Linked DNA regions of Homo sapiens: region 2 is linked to region 1. The links are contacts of gene promoters, found by promoter capture Hi-C in human tissues and cell types (Jung and others, 2019). All regions are on one chromosome and are shown on one strand. The core of a region is centred on a gene start or on the middle of the fragment in contact, and the rest is flanking DNA. Distances in the headings are between cores, read along the strand shown. Region 1 holds the start of DDI1 (DDI proteasomal shuttling factor 1). Region 2 overlaps PDGFDDN (PDGFD downstream neighbor).

The links. The method cuts DNA at HindIII sites, captures the fragments that hold promoters and counts their contacts. A contact is called where the count stands out against the background at its distance.
Region 2: a fragment that was not itself captured here is called in contact with the fragment with the promoter of DDI1 in region 1 in 2 of the 25 tissues and cell types used here (adrenal gland and mesendoderm cells).

What each region holds. Positions count from the first base shown.
Region 1 is chr11:104,034,408-104,038,965 of GRCh38, reverse strand. It overlaps DDI1 (DDI proteasomal shuttling factor 1), which reads right to left and starts at 2,326. Exons shown (of 1, transcript NM_001001711.3): 1 at 1-2,326. The coding sequence starts at 2,143. The coding sequence ends at 953. All of the region lies in intron 1 of PDGFD (platelet derived growth factor D), which reads left to right. The HindIII fragment of the contact is 14,414 bases long and covers 1-4,558 here.
Region 2 is chr11:103,901,040-103,906,041 of GRCh38, reverse strand. It overlaps PDGFDDN (PDGFD downstream neighbor), which reads left to right. Exons shown (of 4, transcript XR_947960.3): 1 at 1-1,362. Among named protein-coding and RNA genes, the nearest start is that of PDGFDDN, 3.3 kb to the left of the region's middle. RefSeq lists enhancers at 1,312-1,481, 1,902-1,991. The HindIII fragment of the contact is 4,922 bases long and covers 714-5,002 here.

The DNA.
Region 1 (4,558 bases), core at 1,077-3,576:
TTCAAATGTTATTTTAACAGTGAAAACCTTTGTTCAAACAATACTGATGTAGCAGCAGCTTAATGTATAAAGCAGATTTTTACTTTGAAAAAGAGAGAGAGATGATCTAGTTGCAATGACTATTAGAGAACCTGGACCACTGCCTGTCCCCACCTCTCATTCCCACCACTGTACAACTTGACTCCCAAGAAGTACCATAATTTCTTTTTTAAAAAATCTAATTTATTGCCTTTGTTTTATAGCCAGAGTTTCTTTGAATGCAGGAGAAATAGAAAATTAATGTAGCATCCTTGGAGATAAATCCACTTTCTCAAATATGGCAAAAATAGTCTTTAGCTGTGGATTGCAGGGTGACTGCAGGGGATCCAGGGGAAGGGAAGGTGTAAATATGAGGAAATTGGTCTTTATGCTGCCCCAAACAGACATGTATAAGTATTAGTTAACATCATAGTGTAACTGACCTACCATTTCTAATACCCTTCCCAAAGAAAACAAAACCTGTGAAAATGGGCATATTTCTCTCAGTAGAAAGAATTATTAGTGCTGATGTGAAATAGTTTTATGTGGATGCCTTGTAAGGTCTGCAGCCATAGCATTTTTCCAGGGAATTCTGCAAAATAGCAATGATTTGGATAAGCCACCTGTAATCTGATAGGATAGTGTCTCTAAAGGAAGAAGCTGGTTTTCTTTTTCATGGATTATCTGGAAATCAGCTGGAGCCTCCAGAGCCTTCCCAGGATGCCTTTCAGTGATCTCTGGACAAGGGAAATGGAAGAGGGACCAAGACCAAGGAATCAGGATTGACGTTAGTTACCCATCTGAGAACGTAGTCCCAAGGCCAGGTTTAGTTGTTACTGATGTTTTTTAATGATTACATTGCCAGTAAGCTCTTAACTTATAATTGCCGGGGACCTGAGGCTCCCTCAAGGTGGTAACATATTTATAACGTGCTTTAATGCTCTTTTCGTCCTGAATCCATGACTGAATGTGTAATTTCCTTGTCCGAAGACTCATCTTGCCCACTTACCATCCTAGAGCATAAGGGCAACTCTCCCTCAGGAAGAAAATAAGTCTGCGTGCCAGTGGTGCCGATGACCAGCACATTTTTCTTCAAATCGATGGAACATTGATGTCTCCGGAGCATATCTAGGCCTAGAAGCATATCCATGGGTTGATCCTCAAGTATGGAGAAAGAGCACTGTAAGAAATCACCTTCAATTTGAATCTGAGCTAGATGAACACGGCCAATAATTCTCTGTGTGCCCACTCCTTTAGCAACCCCAGCCCACCGTCGGTCCACCAGCCTCATGATGTTACATCGCTCGGCACAAGCCTGGCTCATAATGGTCATCTGGGCGCCCGAGTCAACAAAAGCCTTCAAAGGATGCCCATTCACTTTGCAGTTAATGTAGAGCATCGTCACTTGTCCAAAACTCTCGGGGGCCTCTTCTATCGCTATATTCATGTTTTCTTCAATGTTTTGCTGCCGGATTTCCTCTTCTATTTTGGCCTGAGCTTCCCGATCCAGTGGGTCGGCTGTGTAGAGACGAAGCCTCTCTTGCTCTCTCAAGGCCTTTTCCCTTTGCTGCTCCATCAGCACCTGAGAAAAGGTCTCAAGGCTTCCGCTGAGCAGGGCTTCCGCCAAGGGAGGGTTGCGTTCCTTGAGCAGGGACAGATCGTGGGGGTTGGAGAGCAGCATGCTGCGGATCAGGGCGGGGCTGCCCAGACCTTGCAGGCCGGCCACCTTCTCTCCTGACGCCAAGCCCTGTGACCGCTGGGCAGCGGGTGTGCGCTGCTGCTGCTGTCCAGGGTGCTGTGGACGGGAGCTGGACGTCCCAGGCACCGCAATGCCACTGAAGTCTACACGAGGCTGGTTCGGGGCACGCCCTGGAGCCCGAGGTCCCACATTGTCCTTCTGCAGTAAAACCACGATATCGCCATCTTTGAGGCCGTAGGAGCCCAGGGAACAGTGGTCCTCGATGAGGAGTCGCTCCATGTGGATGATCTGGATCTCTTCGACGGGGACTCTGGACTCCGCTTCGCAGAGGACCTTGAAGTTTCGGAGCTCAAAGTCGGGGCTGACCTGGAGAGAGAAGGTGACCTCGGAGAGGTCCCTCCGCACGCAGTACACGGTGATCAGCATGGCGGGGGCCCGGGCGGGCCGGGCTAGCAGAGGGCATGGGCGGCTCACTGGCGGGCTGGGGCGGGCCTGCGTCGTTGGTGCCGCTGCTCCTCAGGACTTGGTAGGTAGGGACCGTCCGGGCTCATTCACCTCTCAGAGAGGCGCGGACACTCATCTGTCTGGGGGCTGTCTCCCAGCCTCAGTGCCTGCTGTGTGGCCAGGTGGAGCCTTGAGGTAGCACGTTGTGTTCCAAAGTCCATTTCTAAGTGTGCTGTTTGGAACCTAGAATGCCTACTCCCATGGATACACGATGGCTCAAAGCTGTCAGGTTTCAAGGCCAGCCCTTCAAAGCCTATTTAACACATGATATGAAAGAAATGATTTCAACACATTTTTTTTTGAGACAGGATCTTATCCTGTCACCCAGGCTGGAGTACAGTGGCATAATCACAGCTCACTGTAGCCTCGACCTCGTAGGCTCAAGCAGTCCTCCTCTCTCAGCCTCCTGAAAAGCTGGAACTACAGGCACAGTCTACCATGCCCGGCTAATTGTTGTATTTTTTTTTAATAGATTTGGGGTCTCACTGTGTTGTCCGGGCTGGCCTCCAACTCCTGGGCTCAAGCAATCCCCCACACTTCGGCCTCCCAAAGTGCTGGAATTACAGGTGTGAGCCACCATGCCTAGTTTTTCAACACTTTCTAAACAGCATATTATCATTTGTTTTGTTCATTTTAGAGTTGTATTCTTTGTACTTTTGTTTTTTCCCCAAACAGTAAGGATTTGTTTCTTACATGGCAAGTACCATTCTATGTGCATAGTAGGAAAGTCAGATTTGGAGCCTGCCCTTGAGGAGCTCACATTTCTGGAAAGGGATAGACAGGTGAATGGGTAATCACAATACTAAAGGCAAAATCTTTTACAAAGACATGTTCAGGGTACTGCCTTTAGTATCACCAACAGAACAGAGGATATTTTCCTAAGGAGGAGACAAGCTGGATGTTGAAGGATGAGCATCTTCCAGGTGCAAAGTGGTCTCACTCCAAAGGAAAGCAGTTTCATGTTACAAAAGCAGGAATTTATGGCAAGGGCTGTTATTTCTAGAGAAAGATGAGACATTTTGTGCAATAAAAAAATTGTACATGACTTTGAATACCAGGATATGAAGCTGGAAAAAAATTAGTTGAGCCAATTGATGAAGTCATATGTGAATCTACGGAGTTTAAATATTAAATATTATCAATTAGCAAGAATTCCTCCTCCAAAAAAAAAAAAAAAAAAAAAGAAAAAGAAGTAAGGAAGGAAAGGAAAGGGAAAAGATTTGAAGCAGGTGTTTGTGATTTTTTTTTTTAAATTGACTTAAGGAAGAGGCTTCTTGCAACACATGGAGGACATAATGTGGCAGGAGGGCCAGTCAGGAGGCTTTTCCAGTGGTTCAAAGAGGGAGCTGTTGCTAGAGTGTGGAAAGTCAGGAGGCCCAAAGCCAAAGCAGTAGAGAATAAACATGTTTCTTGAGTAAAATGGACAGAGTGTGCATACCCCTTGGAGGTGGGGAGTGTAAAAAAGTGGAATGTGTGGATAACACAGAGGGTCTCTAAAATGGGATATAGGGTAGATGGGCCATTGCCTTGAAGGGGAATGAATGAATGAGTGAGATGAACCTTTGAGGTGACCCATTTGACATCAGTTCTGTAGGAAAATTCATTAAGGATGCCACCCTAGAGGCCAATATGCCTCTCTCTGACATTTGGGCACAGCCACCTTCTCCCTACTCTCCCCCACCCCCACTTACACACACACACATACAAGGCTGTCATGGTGAAAAGTCCTTCAAGGCAAATGATGATTGGGTAGAAATCCTTGCATGCCAGTTATTTTTCTCTATGTTTAATAAAGTGTTTTGCTGCCTGGCGCGGTGGCTCATGCCTGTAATCCCAGCAGTTTGGGAGGCCAGGGTGGGCGGATCAAGAGGTCAGGAGATCGAGACCATCCTGGCTAACATGGTGAAACCCTGTCTCTACTAAAAATACAAAAAATTAGCCAGGCGTTGTGGTGGGCGCCTGTAGTCCCAGCTACTCGGGAGGCTGAGGCAGGAGAATGGCATGAACCTTGGAGGTGGAGCTTGCAGTAAGCCGAGATTGCGCCAGTGCACTCCAGCCTGGGTGACAGAGCGAGACTCCATCTCAAAAAAAAAAAAAAAGTGTTTTGCACTGTGCAGAGCTCATGTTTCCCTGGCTTGGTACTCCCAGGTGTACCTACTTATGAACCAAGATAGTCGATATCCTCTGCCTAGTTTCACCCCCTTCTTTGAAGGGTTGTTAGAAGGCCTGCACTGTTACACCATTATTCCATTATGGAGAGAAGGAAGTCACATCAGCCTAAATAATTATTTTTTGGCTCCTGTTTCTCATGTATTTGTCTCAGATGGAAGACTATGT
Region 2 (5,002 bases), core at 1,925-4,424, 130 kb after region 1:
ATGTATATATATGTGAATATATGTGTATATATGTATGTATATATGTTGCATTTTAATACAAAGACATTAAGAATTTTATTTCATTTCCTGAAATGTTCACATGTCCAGTTTTATTCTGAGAATAACTCAACAGATGTCTAAATTGTTGATACTCTCCTAGGTTCCTCATAGAATATTAAATTAAAATTCAATAGATTAGTATTCATGCCTGAAGTCCTAGGAAATATAATTTTGTTTATTGGCAGCCCTAGTCAAACATGCTAGAAGACAGAATATTTATAATTCACTGGTTTTATTGACATTCACTCAAATTCTGTTGTTTTTAAAGATCAAGTTAAAGACTACACAGACCTTCAAAACTTAGCATAGCACAACTGGGATATCTCTCAAATAAAATAGGCATCAACAAGGGATAAGCAACTAACCACTTAATGTAAGACTTTATGCTTGCTTTTCCAGTTATATTTCTGAATTTTGCAAACTAATTTGTGTCCTTTTTTTGAATAAATTTCATTTCTATAGAGATGTCTAAAAATTATTTAGCAGACTACATTAAAAGAGAGTGGAGCTAACTTCTTAACATAGGTTAATATACTCAGTGCAACAAGCTGTGGACCAAGAAATCTTCATTTTCTAGCAAAATCATTTGACTTTGTGATTATTTTAAACTGTTTATACTTATTGCCAGGTTTAGTGACCAGAAACCAAATGTTAAAATCATTCTTGGATTCAATTTACATTTTAAATAATACCTACAATACAAGTTCCCTTTTAAGAACTAAGGTCTCTAACCTGTTTCTGGTTGAGGTCATAGTATAAATTTCTCCTCTTCAGGCCTTCTAGTGTCTTTCTAGACTTTCCTTTCTCCCTGTGTCTCCCACAGGCTTCCTTTCTCACCTGCCTCTACTTGTCAGTCTTCAAATCAGAGAAAATCAGGATCAATATCTGCTTTGGGAAAGACAGGAGATAGATCAGTCGAGGAGATCAACTGCATGGTTACCCAAGTGAGCAATTAATAGGGTAAAATTCCCAACTGCTTTAAGAAATCACTGCTTTTTGAGAGTCAAACACATCAGGTGCATATTTTTCAGTACTGTCCACTTTGGTGCAAACTTCAGGATATGGTGGTAGATATTTGTTGACTTCTGTCAATAGAAATTTAGCCACAGTCAATATGGGGAAAATTGACTAAATTACATGTTTCATTCATTCATTCAACAGCAAATACATTAAAGCCCGCTATGTATCAGACATGCTTTGAGGCTTGAAACACAAGATTCACAACAGAGGATAAAACTAGAGAAAGATATTCTAGGTAAGATCAACAGGAAGAACAAAGGTCTCCCAGCAAAAATGCATAAGGTAAGTGTGGGCAGTTCAGAAAATATAAAGTGATCGAAAGGAAAGAAAAGGAAACTGTAGGCAAATGAATTTAGTCTTTTACATTTAGTAAAGGAAGCTCCATGAGGACCTCTGAGCACAGTGGGGGCTGTATGTGTCATAGAGCACCAGACAGAAAGTTAGAAGGTCTTGGTTGTAGTGACTAGCCTGCCACTTTCTAAACCTATGTTTCCTCATTTACACACTCAGATATGTAAGATGTTCTGGAGGTGTCTTCCGGCAGAACAATTCTGCAATTCTGCATTTTCGAAAATGGGTCTACAGAAAGAGTAGGGATTGGGCTATGAGTTATGAGGCTCCTTGAAGTTCTAGGGGTGAGACAATAAGGATAAAGCGAGACTTCAGAGACAGGAAGGGAAGTTTGCCCCTGTGGTTGTTCAGGCTGTGCACTACAAATCTCTAGGGGTTGCTATTTGCATGAACTAAGATGACAAGACAGGTTAAGAGGTTTCAAAGTTCTTTGTGGTTGGATGGGCTGGAGGTGCAGGCTTGGAGATCTCCTGTAGGAAGAAGTCATGTGAGTTCAAGAGAATTCTTGTGGGAAAACCAGGGAGGCAGGAAGGAGGGGTGAATTTTGCAAGCATGTCTCCAAGAAGAGGAGCCAGGTCTTGTAACATTGAAAGGGAGTCATTCTCAGGGTCAAAGCTGAAACCATAAGAAGATACACAGAACCTGAAAGACCTCCATAACCATTAAGAGGGAAGAAGACTAGTTTCTAAAGCTCATAAAAATGTGTTCTGAAAAGGTATTAAGTACTGACTGAGGGCTAAAGGTCCAGCCCTGTGCTAAATACAGCAGATTCACAGGAAAATAAAACAAACGTATTTCCTGCCTTTATCAAGCTAGAGAAGACATTACATGAGGCTAGAGAAGACTAGACACTAAACAAATAATTACATATGTAACCCAATACATTTGTGAAAAGCAAAAGCATAATGTGTGATGACAGTAAAAGGTGGAATCCAGATCAGAGGACAAGGAAGGGTTCTGTGAGAAGATGACATTAGAGCAGGAACAGAAAGTTGAATAAATGTTAGAAGCAAAGTGAAAGGAGAGTGTGACATTAAATGGTAGCAATAAAAATGAAAAAAAATCTAGCTATATTAAAGAAATAGTTTGAATCTTTAATTTATCAGAGTTGGGGATATATTAGACTGAGGCAAAAGAAGATAGAAGATAGCAAGGATTTTTCCAAGGCTTCTGGCATAACAAACTGTGCAGATAGAGGTGCCATTTATTGAGATGGGGGACATGCAAAGAGAAGGAGATTTAGGATAGATTAAGAATTCAGTGTGAGGTATTAATTCCAAGTGACATTTGATATATCCAATTGGAGATATTAAGTAGGCAGTTAGGTCTGTGGGTCTGGAGCTAAGAAGAAGGGTCTGAGACAGATGTAAATTTAGAAGTCAGCAATATACAGTGGTATTACAAAACACAGGAACAGTCCAGATACTTAGGGGAGGGTGAAAACTGAAAGGGGAAGAATCACAGGGCAATTGTGAGAATATAAAAATGTTCTAAGTGCCAGAGGAAGAAATTGTTGCAAAGAGTCTGGGTCAGTTTTATCGACTATGGCAGAGAAGGTATGAGAAACACCTACAGATTTATCTGCTCAGAAATACTCCTTTCTTTTATTTTTATTTTTATTATACTTTAAGTTTTAGGGTACATGTGCACAACGTGCAGGTTTGTTACATACGTATACATGTGCCATGTTGGTGTGCTGCACCCATTAACTCATCATTAACATTAGGTATATCTCCTAATGCTATCCCTCCCCCCTTCCCCCACCCCACAACAGGCCCCAGTGTGTGATGTTCCCCTTCCTGTGTCCATGTGTTCTCACTGTTCAATTCCCACCTATGAGTGAGAACATGCGGTGTTTGATGTTTTGTCCTTGCGATAGTTTGCTGAGAATGATGGTTTCCAGCTTCATCCATGTCCCTACAAAGGACATGAACTCATCATTTTTTATGGCTGCATAGTATTCCATGGTGTATATGTGCCACATTTTCTTAATCCAGTCCATCATTGTTGGACATTCAGGTTGGTTCCAAGTCTTTGCTATTGTGAATAGTGCCGCAATAGACATACATGTGGATGTGTCTTTATAGCAGCATGATTTATAATCTTTTGGGTATATACCCAGTAATGGGATGGCTGGGTCAAATGGTAAGAAATACTCCTTTCTAACCCTAATCTCTTTTCTGAGAGATTCCTCTTCATCTATAGCAGTATTGTCCAATAGAACTTCTTGCGATGATGGAGATGTTCTATATCTGTTCTAAGAGAGCAGCTAATAGCCACACTTGGCTGCTGAGCACTGGAAGCATGACCAGTGTGGCTGAAGATTTTTAAATTTTATTTAATTTTACTTAATATTTAAATATAAATTGCCACATGTGACAAGTGGCTACTGTATTAGGCTATGCAGTTGTAGATTTAATTATCACCCAGAGTTGTAGCCAGAATACTACACACTTCACAGTACCACACACACGTTCTAGTCACAGCCAGGGGCACCTGACTCAAGCTTTCTCAGGATGTATGGGCCTGAGGAGAGATTCAGACAGTCTCCTTGGTTATTTGGATGGTAGGATGTGAAAATCAATGGCTATTGGCAGCCATACTCTCTGCCATGTAGACTAAATATCTAGAGAAAGTTAAACTATAAAGGAAAAGAAGGAAGAAAGACACAAACACACAGAAAGTCCTGAGGGAGTCCCTCCTTCTCATTAGTTCTGATGTCTGGCCAAACCCGTCTCTGGTTCTCTGAGAATGTCATATGGTGGAAATGTGAGTCAGATGATAAGATATTTGGAGGGAGGAATTGTGATTACATGAAAATGCTGAGTGAAAACCACTATCTCAAGGAGTTGATAGGTGAGTGAAAAGAGAACTGCAGTTAGCCCTTTATATCCACAGGTTCCACATCTATAGATTCAACCAACAGCAGATGAAAGATATTTGGAAACATGAAAAATATAATACAACTATAAAAATAATAAAAACTGGCCAAGTTCAGTGGCTCACACCTGTAATCCCAACAATTTGGGAGGCCAAGGCAGGCGGATCACTTGAGGTCAGAAGTTTGAGACCAGCCTGGCCAACATGGTGAAACCCTGTCTCTACTAAAAACACAAAAATTAGGCATGGTGGTGCACTCCTGTAGCCCCTGCTACTCAGGAGGGCGAGGCACGAGAATCTCTTGAACCAGGAAGCAGAGGCTGCAGTGAGCAAGATTGCTCCACTGCACTACAGCCTGGGTGACAGAGCAAGACTCCATCTCAAAAATAAATAAAATAATTAATTAATTTAATTAAATAATAATTAAAACAGCACAGTATAACAACTATTTACATGGTATTTATATTGTGCTAGGTGTTATAAGTAATCCAGAGATGATTTAAATCGTATGGGAGGATGTGCATAGGTTATAGTAAACACTGCGCCATTTTAGATAAGGGACTTGAGCATCCCCAGATTTTGGTATCCTCAGGGGTCCTGAAACGAATCCCCTGTGGATATCAAGGGACAACTGTACATTAAATTATTGTTGTCTGTGGCACTTGTGTTCTATGAAGTTGCCAGATTCACT